Linked DNA regions of Homo sapiens: regions 2 and 3 are each linked to region 1. The links are contacts of gene promoters, found by promoter capture Hi-C in blood cells and fetal thymus (Javierre and others, 2016). All regions are on one chromosome and are shown on one strand. Each heading gives the region's core, a stretch centred on a gene start or on the middle of the fragment in contact. The rest is flanking DNA. Distances are from core to core; before and after follow the strand shown.

The links. The method cuts DNA at HindIII sites, captures the fragments that hold promoters and counts their contacts. A CHiCAGO score of 5 or more calls a contact.
Region 2: a fragment that was not itself captured here is called in contact with the fragment with the promoter of CMKLR1 in region 1 in 3 of 17 cell types (M0 macrophages, M1 macrophages and M2 macrophages); the score reaches 6.1 in M0 macrophages.
Region 3: a fragment that was not itself captured here is called in contact with the fragment with the promoter of CMKLR1 in region 1 in 1 of 17 cell types (monocytes); the score reaches 6.1 in monocytes.

Annotation. Positions count from the first base shown.
Region 1 is chr12:108,337,956-108,340,754 of GRCh38, reverse strand. CMKLR1 (chemerin chemokine-like receptor 1) reads left to right here and starts at 1,444. Exons shown (of 4, transcript NM_001142343.2): 1 at 1,444-1,728. RefSeq lists a silencer at 1,161-1,280 and an enhancer at 1,388-2,011. The HindIII fragment of the contact is 6,306 bases long and covers 1-2,799 here.
Region 2 is chr12:108,459,239-108,462,037 of GRCh38, reverse strand. LINC01498 (long intergenic non-protein coding RNA 1498) reads left to right here. Exons shown (of 4, transcript NR_120483.1): 3 at 344-408; 4 at 2,454-2,613. Among named protein-coding and RNA genes, the nearest start is that of LINC01498, 13 kb to the left of the region's middle. The HindIII fragment of the contact is 1,901 bases long and covers 503-2,403 here.
Region 3 is chr12:108,265,101-108,267,899 of GRCh38, reverse strand. No RefSeq gene overlaps it. Among named protein-coding and RNA genes, the nearest start is that of CMKLR1, 73 kb to the left of the region's middle. The HindIII fragment of the contact is 1,319 bases long and covers 730-2,048 here.

The DNA.
Region 1 (2,799 bases), core at 195-2,694:
GAAATTAGATGGTTTCTAAGTGTAAAGCTCACTGAATTAAAGGATTGAGGATGGTGGGGAGAGGTCGGTGGGGTTCTAAGGCTGATCAGACGATGAGGACATAGTCCTCCACCTGCCCAAGACTTTGAGGCCCAAAACACAGGTTTCTCTCCTTCTCTCCCTCCCTCCCCATCTCCCTCTCCCTTCACCTTCCCCTCCTCCCCATTACCTTCCTCCCTGCCCTCCCTTTTCTTCCTTTCTTTCTTCTCCTCCCTTCCCCTCTCTTCCCCTCCCCTGCCCTTCCCTTTTCTTTTTCTTTCTAAAAATATTATTTTAGGCAGTCGTAGGCAGTCTTGGCTTTGGAATCAGACAGACTCAGATCCAGCCATGGCTCGGTCAGCATGAGCTTGGCGCCCTGGGCAAAACGACTTCTGCTCTGTGGCCCTAGCATCCTCATGTGTAGAATGGGCAAGTGATGCCCCCCCGACGTGGGTGGTGGTTCACACGGCTTACTCCATGGAAGCACTTGGCACAGGGGCCCACATGGGCACTTCTGTTATTTCTTCAGTCTGGAGGCCAAGGGTGGGCCTCCGAGCCAGACAACATAGTTGGAATCCCAGCTCTGTCAGCTGCTGGCGGTGTGGTCTTGAGCAAGTGACTTAATCTCTCTGTACCCCAGTTTCCTTATTGGTAAGACTGGAGTAGTAATAATTCCTGTTATCTAGGGTTGCCGTGAAGAGTAAGTACGCATCGCCTAGCACGCTGCCTGGCTGTCGGTTGTTTTGATTATTCCACTAATGATGGTGACCACACAGCCGATGAACCAGGCACTTAGCGCCTGGTTAGGGCAGGGAACAGAATACAGTTCTTTCCCTACAGAGTTCCTGGTGCAAGGAGTTCTCGGTGCAAGGAGAGAGACATCTTAACAGGCAAGGACAGCACTGCATCAGTGAGGTGATGGGGTGACCCTGAGGGGCACAGCAGCCCCCGAGGGTTGGGGAAGGCTTCCCTGGGAGGTGACCTTCAACCTGAGACCTGAAGAGGCAGTAGGAGACCATCGGGCCACGAATTAGGGCAGGAATAGCATCCAGGTGGGAGGAACAGCGTTGCAAAGGCCCAGGGTGAGAGGCAGCCAATCTCTCGGTCAGTGTGGAGCTTGAGCCCCTCACCGGGAGCAGAGGCGCTTGCACTTCCCCCAGCAGCCGGGTGCTCAGATGTGCTCCCTGTTTGCGCTCAGTGGGCACGGCTCCCCGGCTGCAAGAGGCTGCCAGAGGGGCGGGTCGTCCCCAGCGGGCCCCCGCCGCCACCCACAAGCCCAGTCCCCGGCTGGTAGGGGCACCCTCCCCTCGCAGCCCCCTCTCCACGCAGCTAGCCGCCCCCGCCCTAGGTCAGCCCAGTTTCCTGCCCCTCCCTCCTGCTCTCCTCCCTCCAGCTGTTTCTCTGGCTGAGTTCTGTCCCAGTCCCATTCAGGGAAGCAGCCCCGGCGGCCAGCAGGGAGCTCAGGACAGAGCAGGCTCCCTGGGAAGCCTCCGGGTGATAGGGGTGTTCCAGCTGCGGCGCTCTGGGGGTTCAGAGGGGGATCTTGAATGAACAAATGAATGAACTGCTTTCTGGGCAAACAGCCACAGCCAGAGGAGCCTGTGATTGGCAGAAAGAAGCCAGGGTGTGCAAGTCTCCCCAACAGCCTCGAGTGGCCTGCAGTCACAGGGAACCCTCAGGAAGACCTTCCGGGCAGAGACCAGAGGGAAGGTATCATCACACACTTGCCTTGGGTGTCTTCTGAGGGGGGCCAGGGAAGGGGAATGAATACTAACAGAGAGAAAAGTTTGTTTCTTTTTATAATTTCATATTTGTTAAAAGGAAGAGTTTTGTTATTATTTTCAGATGTCAAAAGTAATGCATGTTCATTGTTTAAAGAAATAGCAAGGATACACAACTAAATATATGAATGTGGATTTCCACATCTAGTTTGGTAACCTGCTTAACCACAGATTGTGAACTTTTTTCCATATCACCTATATTCTTCCAATATACATTTTTCATGGCTGCATAGAAAGGCTATCTTAAGATTATTTGACTTTTCCATAATAGATTTGCTTCTTTTTTTTTATTAGAACAGTGCTGCAATGAATATTTAGTATGACATCTTTGTGTGTGTGTCTTATGAATACCTTTTAGAAATTGCTAGATTTAAGGTTTGCCTATTTTTAAGACTTCTGAGCTTTTGGTCACACTGCACCCTGGAAGGCCGTGGCAGCTTGACCTCTCTACGATGTTATACCAGGGCACAGTATTCTCACATACTAAACCCACCTTGTTGCTACCCATCCCTTAAACTTTCCCTGATGTGAAGTCGAGAATAATATCTAGATGCTTCAATAGGCATTTCATTTCTTTGTTAGTGTTGATTCTCTTTTATAAACTTATTTTTCACATTTCTAGTCTGACTCTCCTGTTCAAGTCTGTTCCCATTTTTTTCTCCTCTGGGGGCATGTTTATCTTTTTCCAATTGATATCTAAGGGTTCTTTGTATATAAAGGACACAAAACCTTTGCCGGCACTCTCTGTTGAAAATATTCCACTCCCTCCTCTGTCTTCAGAATAGCCCATTTTAAATGGGCAAGCCAGCTTTGGCAAAATTATAAGCATTACAACATCAGGGAACTACTACTTGATATAAGCCCAATCACTCAGACCTGTGCGGTTCAGAGATGCCAGATCACTGGTCTGAGGTCACACGCCTGAACGTCCAGGTTCTGAGTCTTTCTTTTTCTATTAGGGAAAGCCCTCAACTTCCCTTTTGCATCCCCTACCTCCTTC
Region 2 (2,799 bases), core at 204-2,703, 120 kb before region 1:
CCTAGCACTTTGGGAGGCTGAGGTGGACAGATCACTTGAGCCCAGGAGTTTGAGATCAGCTTGGGCACCATGATGAAACCCCGTTTCTACAAAAAATACAAAAATTAACCAGTTTCATAATCAAGTCTCAAAATAAATAAATAGATGAACATTTTTTTAAAAAAGCATAGAGAAGGGAACTCTACAACAATCTATTAACATTGCTAACTACAAGGGGTTGGAGTTAGAATGGAGTGGGAGAGATTATTGATTTTTTACTTTACTTTGTTGTTTAGCATATTGCAATGCATGCGTTACTTCCATAATTAAGAAAATCTAATACACATTTTTATAAAAATTCAAGGTGTCCTCAGATATGTTCAAGCCCAAAAGAATCTTATACCTGGACCCCCCAGTCCCTAGCCCCTGGTAAGTATTTGCAAAAAATGTTGGATGAATGATGAAATGAGGAAGAATGAAATGTTTAGCTCAATATCTCATTTCTTGGATGGTTTGTAAAGCTTTCAATAAAACAGGAGCCTTGAGGCAGTTGGTCATTAATGAATAACTCATCATCAGAGGTCTGGATTGAATATTAAAGCAGTCCCAGCAGTCAACCGTGCCCCTTGTTAAACATGGTCCCTGCTGCAACTAGTCTAGGTCCAGGCTCATATTCTAGCTGACAGCTTGGAGAGGAGTGATAGTCATATTTCCTCACGTAACCATCCTCATTTTTAGGGTTGACAGTTCTGCTGCTGCAATGACAGGGAGGTGGGTGGGTGAGTCCTTTGGGTGTTGCTGGGATGTTAAGTCCTGGGGTTGTGACTGGGGAGAGTGATGTCACCCTTGATAATTTCTGTAGACTCAGGCAGAGCGGCTCACTAAGATAAAAACCTCTTATAAGTAGGTTTTTCTTTCTTTTTAGTAAACAGGTTGCTCATCACTCTTCGACAGCTCTGACCCCTTGGCTGCAGAGTGGGTGCTGGGTGTTGGGAGAGGGGCATGCATGGAGGTCCTTCTTATCCCATGTCTCATCTGATTTTTCTTCAGTCTCCTCCTCCTCACTTTCAGAGCAGAGAGTCCTTATGCGCCACTGGGACTCCCCATGCCCTTCCCTGTCTGTCCGTGTCTTGCTGAGCCAGGCAGACTCCTCGCTTTCCAAAGTGACAGTTCATTTTCAGATTCCCTGTTCACGTTTCCATTTTGCAAGTGACAGAGACCAGTGTGTTATTCCTCTTAAGTAGTGTAGCAGGAGCCTCTGGGAAGGAAACGTTTAGCCAAATGACTGACTCTAACGGAGAATTTTCAGGTATTTTGGTAGACCAAGGGATAGAATAATTTAGGGATAGAATAATTTAGGAATAGGTTGAAGTTCCTGTTGCTAAATGACATTCCCCACCCTCCACTCCCCCGACTTTTTTTTTTTTGGAGACAGAGTCTCACTCTGTCACCCAGGCTGGAGTGCAGTGGTATGATCAGGGTTTACTGTAGGCTTGACCTCCCGGGCTCAGGTCATCCTCCCACCTCAGCCTCCCAGGTAGCTGGGACCACAGATGTGCACCATCATGCCTGGCTATTTTTTTTTTTTTTTGTATTTTTTTGTAGAGACAGGGTCTCACCATGTTGCCCAGGCTGGTCTTGAACTTCTGGGCTCAAGCGATCTCCCCAGTTTGGCCCCCCAGAGTGCTGGGATTACAGGTGTGAGCCACCATGCCCGACCCATTTTCCCCCTTTTTATAAAAGCGATAAGTGTTCAATTCATACCACTTGCAAAACGCAGAAAGACACAGAAAATTGAACAGCACATTCCTCCATAATCCCTTTAGTCAAGATGACTCATCGCAACAGATACACACACAGTGTAAATATATATTTACAAAAAATATACTTTGTATATTCTTCTGTAGCCAGTTCTTTTCACTTAGCAATATCTTGTGAGTATAGTCCCATAACTATAAATATTCATCTATACTGTGAGTTTTTTTCCAGTTGGAAAAATTTCAAACAACGCAAAACATAAAAAACAATTAAGATCTCTATTATTGCCATCCTCAGGGATAACCATTATCACTTTAAAAATATTCTCTTGCCTTTTTTTCTATGCGTATGCACACTAGAATCTAATCCCTATACAGATGCTCCTCAATTTACAATATGGATGTGACCCCATTGTGAATCAAGGAATGTACTGAATGCCTATTGCTTTCTCACCATCATAAAATGAAAAAATCAAAGCATCATAAGCTGGGGACTGTCTGCAGTGTCCTGGCTTGCTTTACCTACCCTTGTGTCCTCAGCACCTTGAAGAAGGTCTGGCATGTAGCAGATGCTTGGTAAATATTGTTAAATGAATGCAAAATTATAAATGCATATTTAGTAGGGTTCCTGGAGTAGAATCTGCTTCTACGTTTTTCCCCCAAAGCTTGTAAAACCCTCATTTAAAATGTTACATGTATTTTCTGTTTTCTGGGAAGGGGACTGGAGTTTACCTTTGAGCAGGACCATCCCTTGATTCTGGGTGTGAGCACTTGGTGAGAAGAAAATAAGCAAAATAACTATCCACGGTTCTTGGGGATGCCCTGAAAGCTCAAATACTGAAGCTGCAGATGGAGCAGTTAAGTATTCTAAAGGGAACCTAAAGCAAACTGTGTTTGTTGGTAGAACATGCCCCTGCAGGGTTGGAGCAAAATCTGTTTCTAAACTTAGAGTTTGGCTGCCCCAGGCCTGAACGCACTTGTTTGCTCTTGGGAGACAGGGTGTGCATTCTCATCCAAGCATTTGCTTGCTGGAGTTGAGGATTGAGGACCAGATGGTGGCAGA
Region 3 (2,799 bases), core at 140-2,639, 73 kb after region 1:
TGCAATTTCTTTCCTGGGAGCTGCCACCACTTGAAAGTTTGTCCAAATAACAGCCTATCTTCACCTAGTCAGTCTTTTCAGAAAACCATCAGCCTGTATGCATTTATGTGTCTTACTTTTGTTCATGTCTTTCTCTTTCTTCACCTGAATTAGAATCTCCAGAAGGGATAGATTGAAATTATAAGCATCCCAAAGGAAACAATGGTGCCTAGGCATAAAGGGTATTTCAGGACCACGGATAAAGCCCTTGACACAGTAGACACGGTATGTCTATCACACAGCCCATGGAGGACAAATCTGTTGCTTAATTTTCCTCTCTGTAGAGCACTGTTTCATCGGGAAATGGATAAGTGGTTAAGAGCTGGAGTCTGGGGTTAGCACGTCTCAGTGTCACTCCACCCCCTCTCACTACTACCTTCTTGACACAGCCTCTGTTTCCTCTTCAGTAAAATAAGAAAAATAAAAGTGTCTAACTCCTAGAGTTGTTGGGATTAAGTGGCATGGTAGGTTGAATTACTGGCTCTAATTCTTCATCCCTACTTGTTTTCATGCCATATGACATGGCAGTTCATTCTGCTGGAGTCAGGGTATATTTCCCCATTCCTTGATTTTGGGTTTGCCATGTGACTTGTTTAGCTAATGGGATATTAGCAGATGTGTTACAAGCAGAGGCTACAAATGTGCTTAGAAATTCTCTCCTGTGCTTTTGTCATTGTCATGAGCAAAGCTTCCCCCAGGTAGTAACTGCTTCTTCAGCTTGAACCCCAGAACCAACCTACATGGAAAAATTGGAGCTCAACCTTTAGTCTGCAGCATAAGACCTGAAGTCCAGCCTGGCCCTGCCATGTTGTAGCACACACTTAAACCTGCAAAATAAATGATTGCTGTTTTGAATCACCGACCTAGGATGGTTTGCAATGCAGAGTTATCAAGACAATAGCTGGCCAATACAAATAAGATAAAGCATGGACAACACTTAAAACAGTGCCTGCAAAAAGTAAATGCACCATAAATTTTGGCTTTCAGGGACATCATTATCAGGAGCAGACAGAAAGGTCAGTGGTGCATTACCAAGGTCTGTCTGTCCAACCTCAGGCAAGTTATTTAACCCACACTTGTTTTCACTTTCCTCATGTACAGAATGAAAACAAGAATACCTCTTCTGAGTATGTTTGAAATAATCAAAAAAGGTATGAACCTAAAACAGTTTTGGAAACTATAAGTTGTTCGACAATAAAGGCAATGTGGTCAGGTGTTCCTAGCACATCCAATGAGTTAGAAACAACACTCACATTATGAAATCAAGTTGAGAGACACAACCAGTGCCATAGGGAGCAACAGCCATTAGCTGAAATCAACAAGCTACTAGCTTTAATCCAATTTGTCAACAATACACCTTCTACTGATTTGCTGCCAATTCCCAAGTACAGCCTCTGGCCTCACCCAGAGGCATCCACCGGTGTGGTGTACTTTTAGCATCAGGAGAAGAACCAAATGGTTCCCAGCAATCTGCTGTAATGACTGAGAAAAAATGTTTTCATGAACACTGTTCTCTTGGGGTAAGGAGCTACCACCTGCAGGTCTCCTTGGAAAGGTAACTAAGTTACTAAGAATAGAGGCACATGAATAGTTATCCCTGTTTAAAACAGATTAGCAAGCTGTCCACCAACTGGGAGAGGGAATGAGGCAGAGGGTAGATGTGTTTTGATGGTAAGAATGAGGTAGGGTAGAGAGACAGAAAATACAAAGCATGAATCCATGCCAAGGAGAAGGGAATTGAGAGAATGGGAGAGGATGGGAGAAATGGACAGTAATGTTCTTTGGAAGCCACTGGCAATTAGGAGACCTTGATATGCCTGGGTTCACAAGAGCATGTGAAATTTAAACAAAGATCTCTTAAATAGACCAGAAAAAGCACAAATTAAAACAGAAAAATTGAGAAGTTGAACTTTGTTAAAATGAACATTTTTTGCCCTTCAAAAAATACTGTTAAGAAAATAAAAAGGGAAGCCATCGACTTGATGTAAATATGTATATTCAGTAAAGCTTGTTATCAGAATATGTAAATAATGCTTACAACTCATTAATAAGACAAACAACCAAATTAAAAAACAGGCAGAATATTTGAACAGACACTGCACTAAAGAAAATATAGAGATAGTAAGTAAACATGTGTAAAGATGTGCTGTATCATTCCTTATCAGAGAGATGCAAATACAAACCACAATGAAATGTCACTCAAACCCACTAGAATATCTGAAAGTAGAAAGACTGACAATTCCATGGCTAGGCATGGTAGCTCATGCCAGTAATCCTAGCTACTAGGTGGGAGAATCACTTGAGGCCAGGAGTTCAAGACTAGCCTAGGCAATATAGCAAGACCCTGTCTCTACACAAAAAGTAAAAATAAAAAATTAGCCAAGTATGGTGGCATAAACCTTATAGTCTCAGCTACTTGGGAGGCTGAGATGGGAGGATCACTTGAGTTCAGGAGTTCAAGGCTGCAGTGAGCTATGACTACACCACTGCACTCCAGTCTGGGCAACAGAGTGAGACTCTAAGAAACAAAACAAAACAAAACAAACAAAAAACCAACCGACAATAACAAGTGTTGGTGAGAATGTGAAGCAACTGAACTTTCATACATAGCTGGTGGGAATGCAAAATGGTACAGCCTCTTTGGGAAACAGTTTCTTTTTTAAAAAAAATAAAGTTAAACCTACACTTAATTTTTGACCCAGCAATTTCACTCATAGGTATTTACTCAACAGAATGAAAGCCTATGTCCATACAAAGACC